Regions from separate parts of the Homo sapiens genome. Here all the other regions are linked to region 1. The links are contacts of gene promoters, found by promoter capture Hi-C in blood cells and fetal thymus (Javierre and others, 2016). All regions are on one chromosome and are shown on one strand. The core of a region is centred on a gene start or on the middle of the fragment in contact, and the rest is flanking DNA. Distances in the headings are between cores, read along the strand shown. Region 1 holds the start of MMP8 (matrix metallopeptidase 8). Region 2 overlaps TMEM123 (transmembrane protein 123). Region 3 overlaps TMEM123 (transmembrane protein 123).

Region 1 (2,801 bases), core at 179-2,678:
GGCTTCTGAGATGGCCTTGTGCTGTGTCATAACATGGCAGAGAAACAAAAGGGGAGCAAGCATGTGTGAAAAGGGGCAAAACACAAAGGGCAGCCCCTCTTTATAATACCCATTCTATTAATTACTAATCCAGTTCTGCAAGAGCCAGAACCCACTCCAGCAAAAATTAATCCAGTCACACAAGAGTGTCATTAATCTTTCTTAATGACCTAAGTACTTCTTAAAGGACCCACTGTCACATGGGCTACTAAATCTTTAACACATAAATTCAAGGGACACACTCTAACCACAGCAGTAGGTGACACTGACCAGATCACACGCTTTGGAATCAGACAGGCCTGGGTTCAAATCTTAACTCTGCCATGAATTAACTGTGAGCACTTGGCCACATTATTTATCTGATTTAAGATATTTTTGTCTCTGAAATGAAAATAATAATGCTCCAATAAGGTTCTTGTGAGGATTAAATGAGATATTTGTGAAATGTGTAGCAGTTGCCTTGCATAGAATAAGCACTCAATGGACTTTACATTAACCCGGGGGTTACAATTAAGAGATAACCTCTTAATAATAATAATGCTTTCTCCAAACTATAATGCTAAGAAAACTGTGCATGAGAGATTTGTGACAGAATTCCCTTGTGTTTCTTAAAAATTTGGGTTCACTTTCAGACTGTGAAACAATGGAAAAAAACTATTGGTTCTGCTTTTATAATGCTTCCAAGAGTTTATAAACAGTCCACAATCTGATGCTGGGAAATATGATTTTACTGTGTACTGATTTCTAGTTCATTGTAATCTACCATCCTCACATTATTTTCTATATCTGGAATTTTTGGCGGCAAAGAAAATGCCTGTATGGAAGCACCAGACATATAGTAACTTGATTGCAGATATCCTGGAAGGAAAAACCTTAGGTAAATGAGAAAGAAAATGATACCATTTTATAAATAAAACCATTTCTTCTACAAAAGTTTCCCAACTAGGGGTAACTCTACAGCAGTATTTTCCCAGCCTTTAAAGAATTCAGCTTGTTTTCATGTCCGGCTTTTAAAAGGCCTAGTCCTTACCAGCTTGGAACCCTCCAAATCACTAAAAGGAGATGTTCAATCTCAAACTAATCACCCAAATAATTTCTTTCAGGCTGTTTTAATTAACAAGAGAAAACAACCCACACTATTTCCTAATAATCAGCAAATCAAACATCACCTAACTGATAGTTCATTTACCTGAACAGTTTTTGTATTTTTCTCTTTAGAAGATACAGGAAAGGCCTTGGAAATCTGCACATGGAGTAAGAGCAGAAATGGAAGCGTCTTCAGGGAGAACATGATCTTCTCTTCAAACTCTACCCCTCCTGGCTTTCTTTCTGTCCCTCTGGGTAGGGCCCTTCCCTGGCGAGCACCCTGACGTTCACAGCATCATGTGTCACTCACAGCTCTCTTGCAGTCCTCTTTAAAGCCATGTCTTAAACAATTGCTGCATCAGGAATATGAAGCAACATAGGTTAATTACACTCTGACAGTTTTGCAATTTTATAATGTGATTTAGTACCCCCAAATGGGGGAGTCTTTCAACAGTCTTTCAAAACTCCAACTTTCTACTCTTTGCTTTTGGATGTTTTAGTTATTTCCTTTTACAAAATTGGTTGAGGAAAAGGAACAAGGGACTAATCCTGAAGTTATGTGGATACATTTTTTGACTATGTAAGATGTTGAGGTTGAATTAACTTATGCAGGGGAATATTTTGAGGTTTGTGGTAGATATCTTGGGACCAAGGAGCCCAACTAGAGAATCTCTGTACTTACCCTCCCTCATTGTATGTGGAGAGAATGAGTGACTGTGTTATTACAAAGCAGGCTTTGTATGGGGCCTAGAGCTGCTTCTGGAGGATGTGGTTTGGTATCAACATATTAGAAAATCCCTAGTCTATAAGTTAGACTTTCCATGGAAAAGATAAAGAGAACAATACTGATGATGATAATAATGAACATTTGCTAAAAAATTATGATTGCCCAGACATTTGTACTGTGTTCCACATATTACCCCAATCCATCTTCACATAGCCTTGGGAGGGAGATGCTATTACTATCTCCATTTTACAGATGAAATCAAATCCAGAGACATTTAGATGACCTGTTTAAGTCACATGTTTCATTTGTGGAGGGGCCAGGATTCAACCCCAGAGGGTATGTTTAGAGAGACTGAGCTGGGAGCTACTATAAGCTCTGCATGGTAGTCTCCCACTTGAGTCTCTGGCTGGGCCATAGTGGAGCAGCAGCTCTAGGCCTTCAACAGCTGGATACTTTGGCTTATATTCACAGGCAGAAGACAAGGGAGAGGGAGAATGAGATGTTGTACATCTTCAAGGAGTAAGACACTGAGAGATTTCCAGACAATATGGCTACATAGGAGACTGTTTGTCAGAGGCCCCTGGGCATGCTTTTCAAATCATGTAACCTGGTCCCACTTATTCTGAGTCCACATGCATGTAGTTTGTTATCATACACAGTCTTTGTGAATACTCATTTACATATATGCATACATATTTGGTAAAGGCAGGTATTCTTGTGTATAAATGCATGTGTCTACATGTATGATACATAGCATGTATTAATATGTAAAGAGTGTATTTGAGATGCTATGATAAGGAGTTCTGATCTTTCCTGAGGTCACTTAGGAACTTTGAAAATGATCCAAAGAAAGGTGTCTTGGGTTAGAACATATCTGGACAGCAGATTAATGTTAATGATGTATATTCCTACATTCATTCAGTAAACATTTCCTGTCATCTACTACATG
Region 2 (2,801 bases), core at 119-2,618, 320 kb before region 1:
CTAACCACTCATTTAAATTTTCAGGGATAATGAGGCTGTCAGAGGAATTTTTTTTGTCTTTGTCGTGGAAAACAAAAGCCATGGTTTTACCAAGGATGCTATTTAGTACCACAACAGACACAGACATACTAAGTCAAAAGCCTGCTGGGAACTGGTATTTCTTACGATTATTGGTATGAGTAAGTGAAAATTTCAGGGTAGGTTAACTTTGGTCTCCTGTAAAGTGTGTTTGACACTAGTAAAATACATTTTTTTAAGTATATACATCCATTTTCATTTGCAAATAATTATAATCACAAGCTTGTACATAAACAATTTACTTTGGGCCAAAAGGGTTAATGGGAATATAACTCATAAATCTATCAATTATTCATCCCTGAGATGAGCACTGGCTTGATATTCTATCATAATTAAAGATGTGCACCAACAATTTTTTTTAAAAAGTCCTGGCCATTCAAAACTTACATGGTTCGATACCGAATGCCTCTTCTTGAGTAATACATTTTGCATCCAATGTAAAGAATAGATAAAACTCCCAGCGTTAATACAATACCACCAACAAAGCTCCCAGTATCAAATTTTGATCCTTTCTTTGCTTCAGAATGCATAGTTGTTGTGACTAGAACAAAAGAAAACAAAAAAGGGCTTTAGCGTTATTTTTTTTTTTTTAACATTGTAATTAAAGCTCTCTGATTTTCTGTGTTAAGAACATTTAATTAGGAATTAAGGGAAATCTAGGCATATAAAGTTTCTATATTATTTTTGCCAGACAGAATAATGACTTAAATGTGGCATTTAACTACTTGCAGCATAGGAAAAAAAAGGTCAGCTTTAATACATACTTGTTACTGATGAAGCAGCAGATGTCACTGAACTATTGTGGGTTACGGTCATTGTGGATGTTGATATCTGAGATGTGTTCTGTGAAACACTTGTTGTTTTGGGTGTAGACTTTAAGGTGGTAGAAGTCATATTTGTTGAGACCATCCCTGGTGTTGTTGTATTAGATGCCGCTGTAGGTTTCATGGTGGTGACCGTTGTATTACTGGAGTCTGAGGCAACTGAAGTTGGTGGTTTCACAGTACTGTTGGAAGTTTCATTTGTATGGTCAGAAGGCACATGTTGGAGAGTCTCTGCAATAATATCAAGAAACATTAAAACCAGAGCTATGATTTAGGGAATAAGATCCCATTTCACTGAGACTTTCATGGTCACAGACAAAGCAAGAGATCTTACAAATACAGCAGCATTTAACATACTTAGCCCATTAATACTTTGCACTATACTGCAATAAAATGTCTCAAACTAGTAAAAGACTCAACAGAAACCAAGTCTAAATTTATATAAAGTTAGAAATTTTGGGGAAGATATGAAGAAAAAAAAAAACAACCCAGAAGACAGAGTTCCCTCAGTGCAGGGACATGTCTTAATCATCTCTGTCTGAACATCTCAACGTATTTCATATCACATAATAGGCTTTCAACAAATATCTGTTGAATGGATGGATAAACTAATGAATATAAAAATGGTTTTTAAATTTCCAGTTCTCTGCTATACCTTCCAAGGGGCTTTGAGGACAATAAATCAGTAGCTGCATGTTTCTAACCCTCCTGGTAGAATGGGAAGTCCAAGTGAGTTATTTTTTGTAAAAGTAAAGCCAACTTCCCACTATGCATTAGGAAGTGAGATACCATCACAGAATGTGGCTAGCTGTCATACTGGTAATAATAATTTCCCATAGTTGGAAGGACAGTTCTAAAACTATCTGTGAAAGTTTTACAAGTCCAAAAGCCAATTTTGTATGAAAAGAAAAATTAGTGATTTAAAATACACAACTCAAACAATACCTTTGCTCATACCTGCAACTGAGTTTTTCTTTTTTGGGGGGTATAATGTAAACAGAAACATATAGGTACAGATCTTGTTAATGCTCCTTAACTTCTTTTTTGTTTTTTGAGATGGAGTTTCACTCTGTCACCCAGGCTGAAGTGCAGTGTCAAGATCTCGGCTCAATGCAACCTCCGCCTCCTGGGTCCAAGTGATTCTCCTGCCTTGACCTCCTGAGTAGCTGGGATTACAGGTGCCTGCTACCATGCTGGCTAATTTTTGTATTTTTAGTAGAGACAAGGTTTTACCATGTTGGCCAGGCTGGTCTTGAACTCCTGACTTCAAGTGATCTGCTCGCCTCAGCTTCCCCAAGTGCTGGGATCACAGGCATGAGCCACCGTGCCCGGCCAATACTCCTTAAAATAAACTTCGATTACTTTTGTTTTCATCCAGCAAAGGTTTCCTTCTTTTTGCATAAAATATGGCCTATAACCAGAAGCAAACCTTTCTGTGTTAATTTTATTTCATACTGCATCTTCTTTTTAACACGACAATTTAACTAACGTTTACAACTATAGGTACCTATTAGGATACAATGTCTAGGGAATGAAAGCTTTTAATATGTCTTTGTCCATTTAATATGATGTAATATATTTCTGTATTCATTTCCTGTCTCATAGTTTATTTTCAGGTTTTTTGGTTTCCTATGTTGCCTACTGCTATGGTTTGGATTTGGTTTGTTTGTCCCTATCAAAACTCATATTGAAATTTGATCTCCAATGTGGCGGTCTTGGGAGGTGGGGCCTAGTGGGAGTTGTCTGGATCATGGGGGCAGATCCCTCATAAATGGCTTGATGCCCTTCACGTGGTAGTGAGTGAGTTCTCATTCTGGCAAAACTGGATCAGTTCCTGTGGAAATGAGTTCCCATGAAAGGGGGTTGTTATAAAGCCAGGATGCTCCTCGGGTTTTCTAT
Region 3 (2,801 bases), core at 143-2,642, 300 kb before region 1:
ACTGACAAACATTGTTGTTCAAACACAGTTGGCTTTTGTTTAGTTTCTTAAACAATACATGCCTTTTAATATCAAATGGCACCATGCAATCCTACCACACTTACATGAACTCGATCAGTCTTCAGTCTTAACTTGTTCCTTGAGCTTTTTGTTGACTGAATTTCACAAAAGAGGACCCAGGTCTCTGCTGAAGTAGCACATGCCCAAGGACTATGAGGAACAAGGGGAGAAGGCAGAAGTGGAAGAGAAGGCAGAAGTGGGAGAGAAGAAATAGGGAGGGTATAAATTCTTTTTTTTTTTTTTTTTTGGAGACAGAGTCTCACTCTGTCGCCCAGGCTGGAGTGCAGTGGCACAATCTCAGCTCACTGCAACAGGGAGGCTATAAATTCTACGGAAATGGCTGGGTGCGGTGGCTGATGTCTGTAATCCCAGCACTTCGGGAGGCTGAGGCAGGTGGATCACGAGGTCAGCATTTCGAGACCAGCCTGGCCAATACGGTGAAACCCTGTCTCTACTAAAAAACACACAAATTAGCCAGGCGTGGTGGTACACACCTGTAGTCCCAGCTACTAGGGAGGCTGAGGCAGGAGAATCACTGGAACCCGGGAGGCAGAGGTTGCAGTGAGCCGAGATCGCGCCACTGCACTCCAGCCTGGGCAACAGAGCAAGACTCTGTTTCAATTAAAAAAAAAAAAATTCTACAGAAATAGAATGAAAATGTAAACATTCTACCAGTTCATTTAGGAAGACAAAGAATATTTACTCTGAGATTCAGAAAAGAATATACATATCTTATAAAAATTATCACAATAATCTTCTGGCAAGACACTCTTCCTCAATGAGGATATAAACTTGCTGGAAGGAAAAATGAGATGCTGATAAAAAAAAGTGATTTAACCAGGCCATGCATGGAGTCTAGAGAGGTCTGAATTGTCCCTTCCTCACCCTTCCTGGGAGTGTGAGTCTATCGTTATTTACTATTAGCTAAGAAGAAAAAAACAAGAGTACATTAATTTAAAAGGTTTTTCTTAGTTTAGGATGTTGATATTTCAGATCTAACTTCAATTTTTTATCCTGAATATATTATTACGTTACTACTGCAATATAATCTTAACCTATATTCTTCACAATTTAAAAAAAGTCATTTTATTTTATTTTTTTGAGATGGAGTCTCACTCTGTCACCCAGGCTGGAGTACAGTGGCACAATCTCAGCTCACTGCAACCTCCACCTCCAGGGTTTAAGCAATTCTCCTGCCTCAGCCTCCCAAGTAGCTGGGATTACAGGTGCCTGCCACCACACCCAGCTTTTTTTTTTTTTTATTTTTTAGTAGAGACGGGGTTTTGCCATGTTGGCCAGGCTGCTCTCGAACTCCTGACCCCAGGTGATCCACCCAGCTTGGCCTCGCAAAGTGCTGGGATTACAGGTGTAAGCCAGTGTGCCCGGCCCCCCCAAAAAAAAAAAGTCATTTTAAAGAAGTGTTTTTTCCCCTAGATTACTTTATCCCATATCACAAATTAAATGGCCATCTGGACAATTACTTTATAAAGCTAACTGAAAAAGATATTCTGAGATCCTCAGGAAATGATCCATCTCCAATTTAAGTGGTACATTTTTGCTGCAGCTCATCAAGAATAGGCTATAACTCTGACAAGAGCAGATGTTTCTGAAGAGAAAGGAGACTAGTAACTACTGGCCACCAAGTCTGGCCAGGGAAAATCATTACCACTGACTGTGGCTATGTGGCCAGTAGAATGAACATCTGTTCTTTTTTCCCTGCCCAGCTCCTGTTCCACTCTTCCTTCAGGCAAACACCCTTCGCTCACCCCCTGGGGTCTGGAGGGACTACGAGTGGGTAGGCACGAGATTCAAACCAGGTCAATCAGCCTCTCGCAGGAGTCTGAAATGTGAGTAGAATACACCAGGATGGACAACAGTTAACACAGTCATTTTGATGGCAGCCTCCTCAGGAGATTTGTTAATTCCTGTCCCTGAAATCCCTAGCCACACTAGATCTAGTTCAGTTTTCTTCTTTAGGTTTTGTGAATGTTGGACAGCAGGTGTCCAACAAGTCCTTGTTTATCTAAGTTAGTTATAGAAAATTTCTACTGCTTGCAACCAAATGATTTTAACAATATGAAATTTAAATCTGGGATGATGTCTACTTTCTTCCTGCTCTTTTCTCTTCTTCATAATCACGCTTACGGTTCCTCTTCAGTTTTTTTCCTCCTTTACAACAGAATGCACTTTTCAACTCATGTCAGCAAAAACATTACATGAGACTACTGAAAGGCAAGTTTTGGCGTACAAAATGAAGTTTCTAAAATGAGACTTTCCTCTTTGAGAAGGTCTTTGGCACTCTGCTAACCTTTGACTCTTGCCTTGAGAAAACATTTCCTTACAATTAACAAACATAAAAGCATGAATGCCTGTGTGTGTGCTGCAATGTGACTCTACTTACACCAAACCAACAAGACTATTTTCAGTGCAAAAGTAAACTCCTGACAATCATAGCATTCTACCAAGCAAATGTTTGACATCTTATACATAGCATCTTGTACTGTAAACTATTATAGGCTTCAGATGTAGCCAGACTCACTGCAATCAAATCCAAACTCCCTGAGGGACTTCAGCAACACTGCTCCACCATCACTAAAGCCTCACAACACCGCTTTCCTGTGTCACTTTTATTACCCTCTTTTATGTCAGCAGAAGCACAGATGCTCCTGCCTTGCCAAAAGCCACAGGGCCTGAACAACCCGAGCATCTCCAGAAGCAGCCTGTGCGATGGGAGCACCACA

What was found. Contacts are between HindIII fragments. The CHiCAGO score rates a contact against its expected background, and 5 or more counts as called.
Region 2: a fragment that was not itself captured here is called in contact with the fragment with the promoter of MMP8 in region 1 in 3 of 17 cell types (M0 macrophages, M1 macrophages and monocytes); the score reaches 6.5 in M0 macrophages.
Region 3: a contact is called between a fragment that was not itself captured here and the fragment with the promoter of MMP8 in region 1, in 2 of 17 cell types (M1 macrophages and M0 macrophages). The highest score is 6.4, in M1 macrophages.

What each region holds. Positions count from the first base shown.
Region 1 is chr11:102,723,526-102,726,326 of GRCh38, forward strand. MMP8 (matrix metallopeptidase 8) reads right to left here and starts at 1,429. Exons shown (of 10, transcript NM_002424.3): 1 at 1,229-1,429. The coding sequence starts at 1,330. RefSeq lists an enhancer at 636-1,835. The HindIII fragment of the contact is 5,644 bases long and covers 1-2,801 here.
Region 2 is chr11:102,401,074-102,403,874 of GRCh38, forward strand. It overlaps TMEM123 (transmembrane protein 123), which reads right to left. Exons shown (of 5, transcript NM_052932.3): 3 at 843-1,133; 4 at 466-619. Among named protein-coding and RNA genes, the nearest start is that of TMEM123, 50 kb to the right of the region's middle. The HindIII fragment of the contact is 2,140 bases long and covers 299-2,438 here.
Region 3 is chr11:102,427,159-102,429,959 of GRCh38, forward strand. The region is part of intron 2 of TMEM123 (transmembrane protein 123); the gene reads right to left. Among named protein-coding and RNA genes, the nearest start is that of TMEM123, 24 kb to the right of the region's middle. RefSeq lists a silencer at 1,800-1,977 and enhancers at 2,602-2,661, 2,742-2,801. The HindIII fragment of the contact is 3,918 bases long and covers 1-2,801 here.